2 separate regions of the Homo sapiens genome follow, and region 2 is linked to region 1. Evidence: promoter capture Hi-C in 16 types of primary human blood cells and fetal thymus (Javierre and others, 2016). All regions are on one chromosome and are shown on one strand. The core of a region is centred on a gene start or on the middle of the fragment in contact, and the rest is flanking DNA. Distances in the headings are between cores, read along the strand shown. Region 1 holds the start of TUBG1 (tubulin gamma 1). Region 2 has its middle 4.4 kb from the start of BECN1.

Evidence for each region. The method cuts DNA at HindIII sites, captures the fragments that hold promoters and counts their contacts. A CHiCAGO score of 5 or more calls a contact.
Region 2: a fragment that was not itself captured here is called in contact with the fragment with the promoter of TUBG1 in region 1 in 1 of 17 cell types (endothelial precursors); the score reaches 5.0 in endothelial precursors.

Annotation. Positions count from the first base shown.
Region 1 is chr17:42,606,631-42,613,571 of GRCh38, reverse strand. TUBG1 (tubulin gamma 1) reads right to left here and starts at 3,889. Exons shown (of 11, transcript NM_001070.5): 1 at 3,786-3,889; 2 at 3,352-3,464; 3 at 2,982-3,149; 4 at 1,429-1,497; 5 at 1,066-1,145; 6 at 499-625. The coding sequence starts at 3,834. It overlaps RETREG3 (reticulophagy regulator family member 3), which reads left to right and starts at 4,198. Exons shown (of 9, transcript NM_178126.4): 1 at 4,198-4,486. The coding sequence starts at 4,248. RefSeq lists an enhancer at 4,207-4,316. The HindIII fragment of the contact is 4,939 bases long and covers 4-4,942 here.
Region 2 is chr17:42,825,323-42,832,050 of GRCh38, reverse strand. No RefSeq gene overlaps it. Among named protein-coding and RNA genes, the nearest start is that of BECN1, 4.4 kb to the right of the region's middle. The HindIII fragment of the contact is 7,795 bases long and covers 1-6,728 here.

The DNA of each region.
Region 1 (6,941 bases), core at 2,640-5,139:
GCTTAATTTCCTTTGAGCTTCATGGCCAGAAAGACTCACTGGAAAGAGATTTGCACTGACCTAGGGCAAAGGAGGGCTCAAAATGGATTTTTAAATTTTTCTTTTCATCTTAATTATTTAAACAGTTTTTTTTTTTGTTCTTGTTTTTTGAGACAGGGTTTCACTTTGTCACCCCGGCTGGAGTGCAGTCAGTGACATGATCTCAGCTCACTGCAGCCCCTGCCTCTGAGGCACAAGTGATCCTTCTGCACATATCACCACTCCCGACTAATTTTTGTATTTTTAGTAGAGATGGGGTTTCGCCATGTTGCCCAGGCTGGTCTCGAACTCCTAAACTCAAACGATCCAACGACCTTGGCCTCCCAAAGTGATGGGATTACAGTCATGAGCCACTGCACCTGGCTAAAATGGATTTTTTTTAAATACATGAAAATGATTTAATAGACTCGAGTGGGTATGGGGTGTTGAGAGTTGGGAGAGGTAGAATCCAGGACTCACCACACAGTCTGCATTCTGCGTCAGCCTCTTGAGTGTGAGGAGTGAATTGTAAGGCTGGACCACCACATCGCTCATCTCGTCCTGGTTGGGAAACACTGAGTATGTCTGCACCAGCTTCTTAGGATACCTGGTGGGGGTTGGGGAAAGGATCAGGGCAACAGACCGAAGGCCTGGTGAACATGGCGCTCCCTAACAACTGTCCAGAAGCAGATAAATCTTGATGGCGAAACTGGGGTGGGGTCAAATCAGTAGAGAAGGGAGCCTTGACTTTTGGAAGTCTGTAGCCCTACAGGGGGAAGGGCAGAGACATCTTAGACTCTGGGCTTCCAAATTGAGACCTGGCCACACTCCCTCGACTTTCATCCAGGGCTCAGGTTCTAGGCTCCAGTTCCCACTACTGGGAGTGTGATGGGGTTCTCAGTCATTGTAACTTCATTTTCCTCTCTATAGGAGGGAATATAAGAACTCTTTCCTGTTCCAGCAAATATGGAGTTATATCTGCTGGGTCCCCTAGTCATTTAGGAAGCCAAGTTGGAGACCTTTCCTAATCCCCAAACACAAACTTACCTGTCATTCAGCCGTTCTAAGAGGTAGGAACCCAGTCCAGAGCCTGTCCCCCCAGCAATGGAGTGACACAGCACAAAGCCCTGCATGGGGAAGGGGCAGTCAGTGTACAGGTATCTAGTGGCAGGATGTCAAACTAGACCCATCTCATAGTTTTTTAGGACTCCCATTTTCCCGAGCCCTTGCTTCCCATCCAGTCCCCTCACTTATACAGCTTAGGCAACTGCCTTGTTTCTGGCAAGGCCTGATAGCTTCTGTCCAGTGCAAAGGGTACATGAGTGGGTCTTGTTCCTAACAGGTCGCTTCTAGAGGGTGCTGCCAAGCCTTGCCCATGTCGGCTCCTACCAGCATTCCTGGGACACTTACCTCTAGACTGTCACTACCATCTGCCTCCCGGTCTATGATGTCAAAAATGTCCTCATGGATCTTTTCTCCCTGTACAGACATAGGGGAGGGTCAGAGTGGGACAGAACCATGGGAGGTCTCTGACCTCAGAAAAGCCACCCTCAATTCTCCTTATAACACCCAGAAGTCCTTTTATGGAGCATAGCTACCTGCTTTTATCTACATTGAGAGGCAGTACGGTGCAGTGGTTACAAGAAAGCACTCTACACCCAGACTACCTGGGTTCATACATTAGCTCTATTTTTTTTTGCGATGGAGTCTCTCTCTTTCTCCCAGGCTGGAGTGCAGTGGCGCGATCTTGGCTCATGGCAACCTCCGTCTCCTGGGTTCAAGCGATTCTCCTGCCTCAGCCTCCCCAGTAGCTGGGATTATAGGCGCATGCCACCATGCCCAGCTATTTTTTGTATTTTTAGTAGAATCAGAGTTTCACCATGTTGGCTAGGCTGGTCTTGAACTCCTGACCTCAGGTGATCTGCCTGCCTTGGCCTCCCAAAGTGCTAGGATTACAGGCGTGAGCCACCACGCCTGGCCCATTAACTCTACTTCTATGTAGCTCTGGGCAGCTTATTTAATTGCTCTATGCCTCAGTTTCCTCATCTGTACAATGAAGGTAATAATACAGGTCCATATACCCTTATCTAACAGTGTTGGGGCCAGTTATGTTTTGGAATTCAAAATATTTCAGATTTTAGAAAGGTATTATGGTATATATACTATATATTAAATAAAATTCCAGTGGGAATTTTTATTTAATCAGAAGCACGTTAATCAAATATATTAGTATTTCTGTAATAAAAGGCATCACTAATGACAGTAAGTTGGATAGAAACTATAGGGCCGGGCATGGCGGTTCACGCCTGCAATCCCAGCACTTTGGGAGGCCGAGGCAGGTGGATCACGAGGTCAGGAGATCAAGACCACCCTGGCTAACACAGTAAAACCCCGTCTCTACTAAAAATACAAAAATTAGCCAGGCGTGATGGCAAGCACCTGTAATCCCAGCTACTCGGGAGGCTGAGGCAGGAGAATCGCTTGAACCCGGGCAGCAGAGGTTGCAGTGAGCTGAGAGCGTGCCACTGCACTCCAGCCTGGGCGACAGAGTGAGACTCCGTCTCAAAAAAAATAAATAAATAAAAATTAAAAAAAAGAAACTATAAAACAGCCTGTCTTCATTGAAATTTGTTTTTGCTGATAAACTAGTTATGAAATGTCCTTTGGTTTCATGGCTTTCTGGATCCTGGAAAGGCAGATAAGGGACTGTGGACCTGTAGTACTTACTTCTAGGGTTGTTGGGAGATTTAGAAAAATTAATATATGTAAAGCACTTAGAATGACCTGGCACACTGCATTAGCTAGTGTAGGCGCTTGACAATATTACATAGTCCACTCCCTGCAGCCAGGTCTCTCCCTCCAGCATTCATACATCCCTGATCCGGTTTTCCCTCTCTTCGGGACGTCATAGAGCCTGTCCCTACCCAGCGAGTTGTGGGCCCTGCCAGGGAATAGGAAACGACCTGGGAGAATCCGCTGGCCCAGTTGTTGCCAGCTCCTCCTCCATGTTCCGACAGGTAGATGTTCTCTGGGTTGTAGAGCTTGGCATAGGGGGAGTTGAGGATGGAGTGGATCACCCGGGGTTCCAAGTCCAGCAGCACGGCCCGGGGGATGTAGTGCTCATCGTCTGCCTGTCAAGGGGAGTCCAGGAGGGGGCCCAATCAGCTAGGGCGGCCCAAGTCCGAAGTCCTCCCAACTCTGGCTCCCTCCGGCCCTCCCTCCTCAAGCCAGCCGCCTGGCCCTACTGCCCAGCGGGGTTCCCAGTACCAGGCCACTCCCTTCCCTTCCGCCCCCTTGGGCAACTGCCGCCCCCGGCCAAGTCGCTGGGGGCACCTGGTAGAAAAAGACGTCCTTGCGGTCAGTGCCCTCGGTGGCGAACTCCTCCACGATGCCCTCGGGGCTGATACCATGCTCGGCGCACAGCTGTTTCCAGAACTCGAACCCAACTGGGGGGAAGGGGCGGGCAGGGGAGAAAGAAGATATCTAGGTCCGGGCAGGTTCCAATCAGGAGCCGGGGGACTGGGCGCCTGCGTCCAGGGATAAGAAGTCAAGCCGCAGGACTCTCCCGTGTCTGAGGAAAGGACTGTACGCCAGGGACTGGGCAGGGGAGGGCCCCTCGGGGTTGGGCAAGTGGACACTGGGTCAGGGATGTCTCGCCTTTCAGAGAACTACGATTCTGGCAAGGACAGATGGAGTCCAGGATCCCACAGCGAGATCCCATTGACCCTAAGGAACCTGGCTAGCTGAGGGGCCGGAGTTTCGCTCACTCTGATTGCCGCACTGGCCCAACTGTAGGGTGATGATTTCCCTCGGCATCGCTCCTCAGGCACCGGCGTTGCAGCCGCTCCCGCCCGCAACGGCGCCGCACGCCAGCCCGCTCGCCGCAAGACGCAGGCGCCAAACAACCAGCTCCACCCACGAACTTCCTCCGCTCCAATGAGAATCGAGTTCTGGCAATGAATGGCACGTCTTTAAGCACTGGCCTTCGTTCATGCAGATTGCGCGTGCGCGGCTCCGGATGCGGCTCGGCGCCTCCGGATCCGGCTCCGCGCCTCAGTGAGGGCGGGGTACGGCGTCCTCCCTCCCCTCTGGGTGGGCGCCTGCTTGGGCCTGCGCGCAAGCGCGCTGTGGTGCGAAGCCACCTCCCCCGCCGAATCGCGCATCTGCGCAGTTGCTGTTATTGTGACTTGTCGGGCCACGGCCCCGGATGTTGTGGCTGCCGCGGGGAGATGGCTGAGGCCGAAGGGGTTCCCACGACCCCAGGCCCGGCTTCGGGGTCGACTTTCAGGGGCCGCCGAGATGTGTCAGGCTCCTGGGAGCGGGACCAGCAGGTTGAGGCGGCGCAGCGGGCCCTGGTGGAGGTGCTGGGGCCTTACGAGCCTCTGCTGAGTCGGGTGCAGGCAGCCCTGGTGTGGGAGCGGCCAGCTAGGAGCGCTCTGTGGTGCCTGGGGCTGAACGCGGCTTTCTGGTGAGAGAACTGGACCCTCGGAAACCCTCCGAGTCCCGAATTCGTTGGTTCCTCTAGGGCTCTACTTCTCGCCTGCCCTGTTTTCTTCGCTGCACTGGCTCCTTCCTGTACTTGCCTAATTTTGCCTCACCTCCTTCCACTCCATCCCGCCTGCAGGCTTCGGCACCCTAGTTCTTCCCAGGGCCGTCCACCCATCTTCTCTGCCTTACCTGTGCCCGCACCCCCGCCCCGCACATCTGGCGGGAGCTTCTGGTAACATCTTGAGCCGCTCAAGAGTGAGCGAGGGCTCCTCTTTTGAGCCCGACAAAGCTGCGTCCCTTTAAAGCCATCACTTCCTTTCTCTTGTCTGCTCAAGTGCAAGTTCTAGATTGTTTCCAGAGGTTTTAGTAGTTTATTGTTGGAGTAGAGGCGTGAAGTCTTGCAAAGGTATCCATAGGTGTGATTATAAAACAAGCTTGAGCGATTCGCATGAATTAGCATGTTATATATCTAGGAAGGAAGTTTATGAAGTCTAAGCGTCAGTGTGAGCCCCCAAAGCTGAAAATTGAAAGAAAATTACAAGCTTTTAAAGAACAGTTAGGAAATGATGACGGAGATTACACGCGTGTCAAAGCCACCTGTGATTGTAACTCCTCCCTGTTCCAAGGAATTAGAGAGGCATCCTTAGCCATGGTTTATAGGCAAGGAAATTGATGTCTAATACTGTGTGTGAGTTTTCCTGAGCTGGAAAAGTAGCACTGTAAATATGCTTTATTTGTGTGTGTCATGCTCTGTGAAAATGGAACTGCTGCTTCTCTCAGTTGTCATCACCTGAAGTGGACCTAGGACTTCATAGGATCTACCAACCATAATTTTGGATTTATTTGTAATGGAGGAGGTTCCAAGGGAACTGACTTATAGGGGGCTTTCTGCTGCTGAATGGATTAAGACTATTCTGGATAAGCCTGAAACAACAAAATATGTGTGTTTTTTAATTGTGTTTTTGCTAAAAATAGCTTTCCCCTTAAAATTTGTTTTAAAATCAAAACATTTATTATCCTTTATCTGAAAGATTTTCAGTGAGCTGAAGCAGAACAAATAATTCCAAGTTCATTGACCCGAAAACAGTGTTCAGCTATTAAGCTAATCCTCTCCCAGTTTGAAAGAGACCCAGTTAAAGGTGTCACAGTAGTCTCTGGCATTTGTGGCTTCCAGAGCCTTTAGCAAACTCGATGGTAAACTTTTCCTACCACGTTCTTCATTTATTTTTGGTAGTGCTTTTTCCCTTTTTTTTTTTTTTAAGACAGAGTTTCACTCTTATTGCCCAGGCTGGAGTGCAATGGCGTGATCTCGGCTCACTGCAACCTCCGCCTCCCAGATTCAAGCATTTCTCCTGCCTCAGCCCCCCAAGTAGCTGGGATTACAGGCATGAACCACCACAACCGGCTAATTTTGTATTTTTTTAGTAGAGATGGGGTTTCTCCATGTTGGTCAGGCTGGTCTCGAACTCCCGAGGTCAGGTGATCTGCCTGCCTCGGCCTCCCAAAGTGCTGGGATTACAGGCGTGAGCCACTGCGCCTGGCCTTTTTTTTTTTTTTTTTTTTTTTGAGACAAGGTCTTGCTCTATCACCCAGGCTGGAGTGCAGTGGTATGATCTCGGCTCATTGCAACTTCCACTTCCTGGGCTCAAGCAATCTTCCCACCTCAGCCTCCACAATAGCTGGGACCAGAGGTGCACATCATCATGCTTGGCTAATTTTTTAAATTTTTTGTGGAGACAGGGTCTCACTATATTGCCCAGGCTGGTCTCGAACTCCTAGGCTCTGGTGATCCTCCTGCCTTGGGCTCCCAGAGTGCTGGGATTATAGGCATGAGCCACCGTGCCCAGCCAAGTGCTTCTTCCTTGACCCCTAGGTACTGATTCCCATTGCTCTCTGTAGAAATCTTCACTATAGCACCTCACTGAAGAGTGTTTTATCCAGTCAAAACATTTCCCACAGTGGTTTTGGTATCTCTAGCAAGAAGGCTGGGCCTCATTAAACCAATTTGTATCAAAGTATGACTGCCTGATGGAAAAAAACACTTTATCAGGGTTTACTTATTTTTGTTTTGAGACAGTTTGGCTCTTGTTGCCCAGGCTGGAGTGCAATGGCACGATCTCAGCTCACTACAACCTCCTCCTCCCAGGTTCAAGCGATTCTCCTGCCTCAGCCTCCCGAGCAGCTGGGATTACAGGCATGCGCCACCAATGCCTGGCTAATTTTTGTATTTTTTTGTAGAGACAGTTTTGCCAGGTTGCCCAGGCTCGTCTCAAACTCCTGACCTCAAAGCAATCCACCTGTCTCAGCCTCCCGATGTGCTGGGATTACAGGTGTGAGCCACTGCACTGTACCGGGCCTTAAATGGATTTTTAAACCAAAGATTTATGAATGCAAATGAATTAGTAGCATGTATGCTGTTCTTTTTGAGGAGGGGA
Region 2 (6,728 bases), core at 1,760-4,259, 220 kb before region 1:
GATTAAGTGCAAAAGGAGGTCATCAGATTTGTATTTTGGGGTCGCTCTTGCTGTTGAACATTTATCCTAGGCTGGCCTCTCTACTAAGTGCTAGGAAAATGAGGGGAATACACAATTAAATGGAGTAAAGCACAGAAGACTGACTATGGCCTTTGGGATCAGAGACCTGGGCTTCAAATCCCACCTCAGCTCCTTACTAACTGGAATCTTGGGCAAATTATTGAAATGCTGAGTCTCGATTCCCTCATCTGTAAGATGGAATTTTAATAATTAGTAATAAATAATAGTATGTAATTTTGTAGTGTTGTGAATATTAGAAATAATATATGTAAAACAATTAGCACAGTGCTTAGACACAAAATAAATAGTAGCCACTGTCAGGTAAGTAAGTGATCTGTTAATGCTTAGCATGAAGAGGTTACTCCTTAAATTACAGTAATTATTTCCATTCCTGCTTTCAAGCTCAAAGTCCTTTTCAGCTTATAGAAGGCCACATATAACATCATGCTCTATCAGTTTTCCCCCTTTTACATGTTTTCTGTTAACACATTTCCCTGGGAACTTTTGAGATCCGATTTGAAACTTCAGGAATTATTTCCCACATTTACTCCATTCTATTTTAAGTATGCCACTATTCTTATTCCAGTCAGAATTTATAACATCAACTGGAAAAGCTAATATGTTTGTGCCTGTTAAAATATGCTTTGTTCTCAAATAATTATGTTTTGTCTCCTTCAAGTAGGTTATAAGACAGATACACATTCTCTTTATTTCCCTTCCTCCTCCCCATCCAAGTGTTTAATATAATACTCCATTCATTTGTTTATTCAGTGAACAACTGGAGAGTACCACTACACTTAACAATAACTATTCATTTCTGGGTGCTTACAAGTCACATGTGATCACTGATGACTGGTCTAATTTTAAATTCATGTCCCAAAATCTCAAATGAGTGCACAACACTGCCTGAGCTCCTACTACATGCTCCTGACAAGTTTGCTCTCCCACCCTCCCAATGACTATCATACTTTCTCATCTCCCTGAACCTCCAGTATTCCTTCTCTCCCACCTCCAACTTATGGCCTGGGCTCATTCTTTATTGAGAAAACAGAAGCAGATGAGAACTACCTCATCATCTCACCACCAAATCTGCCAATCTGCAAAATACTTTCTGCCTTTCCTCTTTCATTGAAGGAAACAAACCTGTTCCTATCTCTTCCTTTTGTGCTTTGGATTCCATCCCCTTTGACTTTCTCAATCCCATGTCTGTGCCCATGATTAGCCCCTCTTTTTCCTACATCACATCCTCTGCTGGGTCATTTCCAGACATAACCAATATCCCCTATCTTGAGAAAACTCCCCCCCGAATCCAGATTCCTCTGTAGCTGTTACTCCCTTTCTGTGCTCTCCTTCCTGGCAAGACTTCTTGAATTATTTATTGTCTCTTACTCTACTTCCTCATGCCCCATTTACTCCAATCCACTCTAATCAGACTTCTCAACCCCACTTTCTCACTGATATAATTTTTGTTAGGTTACCAATGACTACCATGTTGACACCAGTGGTCACCTCTCATCTTATTTGAATCTCTCAGTAGTACTCAATATATTAGCCACTCCCCTTCTTAAAATACACACAGCAACCTGTTCTGATCTTTCTCCAGCCTCAACAGTGATTCCCCATTTCCTTTGCTGGCTCTTCCTCCTCTGCTCCACTTCTTAATGGTGGCATGCTTCAGGAGACTTAGGTCCTTTATTCTCTGCTTACACTTTCTCCCTAAGAGGATCTATGCATGTTCGGCCAGGCGCGGTGGCTCACGCCTGTAATCCCAGCACTTTGGGAGGCCGAGGCGGGTGGATCACGAGGTCAGGAGATAGAGACCATCCTGGCTAACACGGTGAAACCCCGTCTCTACCAAAAATACAAAAAATTAGCCGGGCGTGGTGGCGGGCGCCTGTAGTCCCAGCTACTCAGGAGGCTGAGGCAGGAGAATGGCGTGAACCTGGGAGGCAGAGCTTGCAGTGAGCTGAGATCGCGCCACTGCACTCCAGCCTGGGCGACAGAGCGAGACTCCGTCTCAAAAAAAAAAAAAAAAAAAAGAGGATCTATGCATGTTCATAGCTTTAAGTATCATCTGTATTCGGCCAGACACGCACGGGGGCTAATGCCTGTAATCCCAGCACTTTGAGAGGCCAAGGCAGGCAGATCACCTGAGGTTGGGAGTTCGAGACTAGCCTGAACATGGAGAAACCCCGTCTCTACTAAAAATACAAAATTAGCTGGGCGTGGTGGTACATGCCTGTAATCCCAGCTACTCGGGAGGCTGAGGCAGGAGAATCACTTGAACTGGGGAGGTGGAGGTTGCGGTGAGCCGAGATCGCGCCATTGCACTCCAGCCTGGGCAACAAGAGCGAAACTCCATCTCAAAAAAAAAAAAAAAAAAAAAAATCTGTATGCTGATTTGAGGGCCCCAGATTCGTATCTCCCATCTGACATCTTCACTGAGTTCTAACCATCTATTTGATGTTTCTACTTGGAAACCTAATGAGCATATCAAACTTAACATGGCCAAACCAGAATTCTTGATTCTCCCACACACCTGTTATTTTCCTATTCTTCTCCATCTCAGTAATTGACATAACTGTCCACCTAGTTGTTCAAACCAAAAACCTAACAGTCAACCTTGATTCCTCTCTTTTCCTCGTCTCTCCACATTCAACCCATCAGCAGGTCCTGTCAGCTTTCCCTGTATAATGCATCCTGTATGAGTGTGCTTTCCTCCATCTCTTGTTACCCTGGCCAAAGCCACTGTCATCCTTTGCTAGGACTATTACAATAGGCTCCTATCTGGTCTCTCCATTTCCACTCTTGCCACCCCCCACCAACTGTCACATTCTGTTCTTCACTCAGCACCAAAATTTATCATTGATTGATTGACTGACTGAGACAGGGTCTTGCTATGTTGTCCAAGTTGGTCTCGAACTCCTGGCTCAAGTGATCCTCCCGCCTCAGCCTCCTGAGGAGCTGGGATTACAGGTGCACACCAGGCCAGCTCAAAATAATCTGCTAATATGTCAGCCACAGAGATGGTAGCATCTACTCAAGCTGAATATACCTAAAGAGAGAGAGAGAAAGAGAAAGAGAGAGAGAGAGATCCCAGAAACCTCAACTCTAGGGACCCACCCAAGAGAAATGCATAAATATATTCACCAAAAGACATGAACAAGAATGTTCATAGCAACACTATTCACAATAGACCAAACTGGAAACTACCCAGATGCCTCTTAACAGCAAGAGAGATATCTATATTTTAATATAGTCACACAATGGAATACTACAAAGTATTGAGAATGTATGAACTAAAACTACACAAGGTGGGTGAATCTCATGATGAGCGAAAGGAAACAAGAGTATGTCATGTATGATTCCATTTACATGAAATTCAAAAAACAGTCAAAACTCAATCTAGGGTGTTAGAATTGACAATATTGTTTGCCCTTAGGGTGGGCATCAATTAGAGGGTGGCATGGGAGAGGGAGTTGGGTACTGGTTACATTGACGTGTTCATTTTGTAAAAATTCATTGAAAATACATGTATGATTTGTGTCTTTTCCCCTATGTATTCTATCCCCCCGTAAATAGTTTCTTTTTAAGTCAGCCAGTCAAGTCTCTTCCCTACTTACCACCCTCAGTGGTTTCCAGATAACATAGGCCTTCCTGAATCCCCCAGTTGAAGCAGCTCCTCCCACCCTGCCCCCACTTACTCTCTATCACATCACCTTCTTACCTACTGTATTAGCTTTCTAGGGCTGCTGTAGCAAAGTACCACAAAGTGGATGGCTTAGAACCAAAGAAATATATTGTCTCAGAGTTCTGGATGCCAGAAATCCAAAATTAAGGTGTCAGCAGGACCATGTTCCTTCTAAGGGAGCCAGAGAAGTATCTGTTCCAGACCTCTTTCCTGGCTTTTGGTAGCCTCAGGTCTTCCTTGGCTTACAGATCACCCTGTGTCTCTTTACATCATCTTCCCTCAGACACGGTACATGTCTGTCTCTGTGTCCAGATTGCCCCTATTTATAAGGACGCAGTCATATTGGTCTAGGGCTAACATCAATGACCTCATCTGCAACGATCCTATTTCCAAAAAAGGTCACATTCCCATGTGTTAGTCCCAGATGTTAGGACTTCAACATCTTTTGGGGGACATCATTCAACCCATAATATCTGCCATTATCTGAAATTATCTTATTAACTTGGTTACATGTTTACTGTCAAATTCTCTCCTCTGGAATATAAACTATTAGAGCAGTTCACCAGTATATCCTCTCAGACCTAGAATAGGGACTGGCACATAGTAGATGCTCAATAAACATCTGTTGAATCGATGACTGAGGATATGTTGTGTATTATTCACAATCCCTCAAGCACTACATACACTGATTACATATACTTCCCAAGTGTGAGGATACACAGAGCATTCACTATGTAACAGTCATTCCCCTCCATTCCAAATGTATCAGCTCATTTATCACACTACCCTTTATGATATTTACTACTGTATACTATTAATCTCATTTTGTAAATAAGAAAACAAAGCACAGAACAGTTGAATAAATTGCATAAGGTCACATGGTTAGTGGATGGTAAAGAACCAGGTGGTCTCAACTTCCAAATCCTCAGTTGTAACACTATACCCCCTACCTCTCTAGAAGCCCGTTACTTCTCTATGCGTTTCTGAGATGTTAGGGACAGCCAAGCAGGAAGAAACGCAGGACTATGAAGCAGCCACACCAGGACTAGGTGAGAATTCTTTGGGGATGATTCCAGTCACCTCCCCTAAAGGGGCTTTCATGCTGAAAGAGCCAAGAGGAAGAAGGATTGTAAACACTATCCCTAGTCACAAAACCGGGAGAAAAATCAATCTAGTTCCACATATCACATCCAATACCAACTATAAGAAACCACATACATTTAAAAGAAAAGAAAGACACTTCTGGAGGTGGGAATAACTTTCTAAGCAGTATAAGTCATCAAGAAAAATAAGCAGATTTGACTTGAAAATTTAAAACTTCCTGAACATCTGGAAAATAATTAAAGCATTCATGAAAAATTACTAAAAATACTGAGAAAAATACTAATAATCCAATACCTAAATAATCAAAGAATGCAAACATAATTCAGAAAAAAGTAACTACTGCTTGAGCCCGGGAGGCGGAGATTCCAGTGAGCTGATATTGCACCACTGCACTCCAGCCTGGGTGACAGAGTGAGACCGTGTCTCTTTTTTTTTTTTTTTTTAAAAAAAGGCCGGGCATGGTGGCTCACACCTGTAATCCCAGCACTTTGGGAGGCCAAGGCGGGCAGATCAGGAGGTCAGGAGATTGAGACCATCCTGGCTAACATGGTGAAACCGTCTCCACTAAAAATATAAAAAATTAGCCGGGTGTAGTGGTGGGCGCCTGTAGTCCCAGCTACTCGGGAGGCTGAGACAGGAGAATGGCGTGAACCCAGGAGGCAGAGGTTGCAGTGAGCCGAGATGGCACCACTGCACTCCAGCCTGGGCAACAGAGCAAGACTCCATCTCAAAAAAAAAAAAAAAAGTAACTACAATAAGCAAATACATAGCAAAAAGTTCAGCCTTACCAGCAATCAATGATGCTAATTAAAATAACAAGGAAGTGCCATTTTTTGCTTTTGTTCCCCAAATATATGATACCCAATACTGGCCAAGGCAATATGAAAACAGGCTTCCTCATACATTACTGGAAGCAGAATATAGTTATGTGCAAGCACTTTGGAAAATGATTCCCAGTGTTAAGGAAGAGACATTAAATAGCTGACACACTCTTAATTCTGTAGTCCCAGTTATGAGTCTCTATCATAAGTAGCCAGCTCTTCATTGCAGGATTATTGTAATCACCCACAGGGGAAATAGTAGAATTTCCAGCGGTAAAAAAATACACTAAGGCAGTACATTTAGTGTAGTGTAATGTAGCCATGATAACTACAATAACTGTGTAGCAACATAGAAAAATGTTAAATTTAAAAAGCAGAAGCCTGGGCAACAAAGTGAGACCCCATCTCTTTTTTTTTTTGAGATGGCGTCTCGCTCTGTCACCGAGGCTGGAGTGCAGTGTGAGACCACATCTCTACAAAAAATTTTAAAAATTAGCTGGGCATGGTAGTGATCACCTGTGGTCCCTGCTACACTGGAGGTTGAAGCAAGAGGATTGCTTGAGCCAGGAAGTCAAATCTGCAGTGAGCCATGTTTGTTTGTTCCGCTTCACTCCAGCCTGGGTAACAGAGTAAGACACTGTCTCAAAATAAAAATAAAATAGACAATACTACATACAATTTTGGGTTAAGCAGTGGTTTCTTTTACACCAAAAGCATAAACATTGGACTTTATTGAAATGAAAAACTTTTGGCCAGGCACATTGGCTCACACCTGTAATCTCAGCACTTTGGGAGGCCACAGTGGGGGATTGCAAGGGGAGATGGGAAATGTTCTAAAACTGGATTATGGTGATAGTTGGGCAACTGTGTAAATTTACTAAAAATTATTGAACTGTACATTTAAAAAGTGTGAGTCTTATGGTATGTAAATTATACCCCATAAAGTTGTTTTTAAAAATGAAGTAAGTCCCTCTGCTCAAGACCCAGTCATCTCATCTCATTCAAAGTGAAAGCCAGAGCTTTACAATCCCTATAAGAGCCTAGGTGGTAGC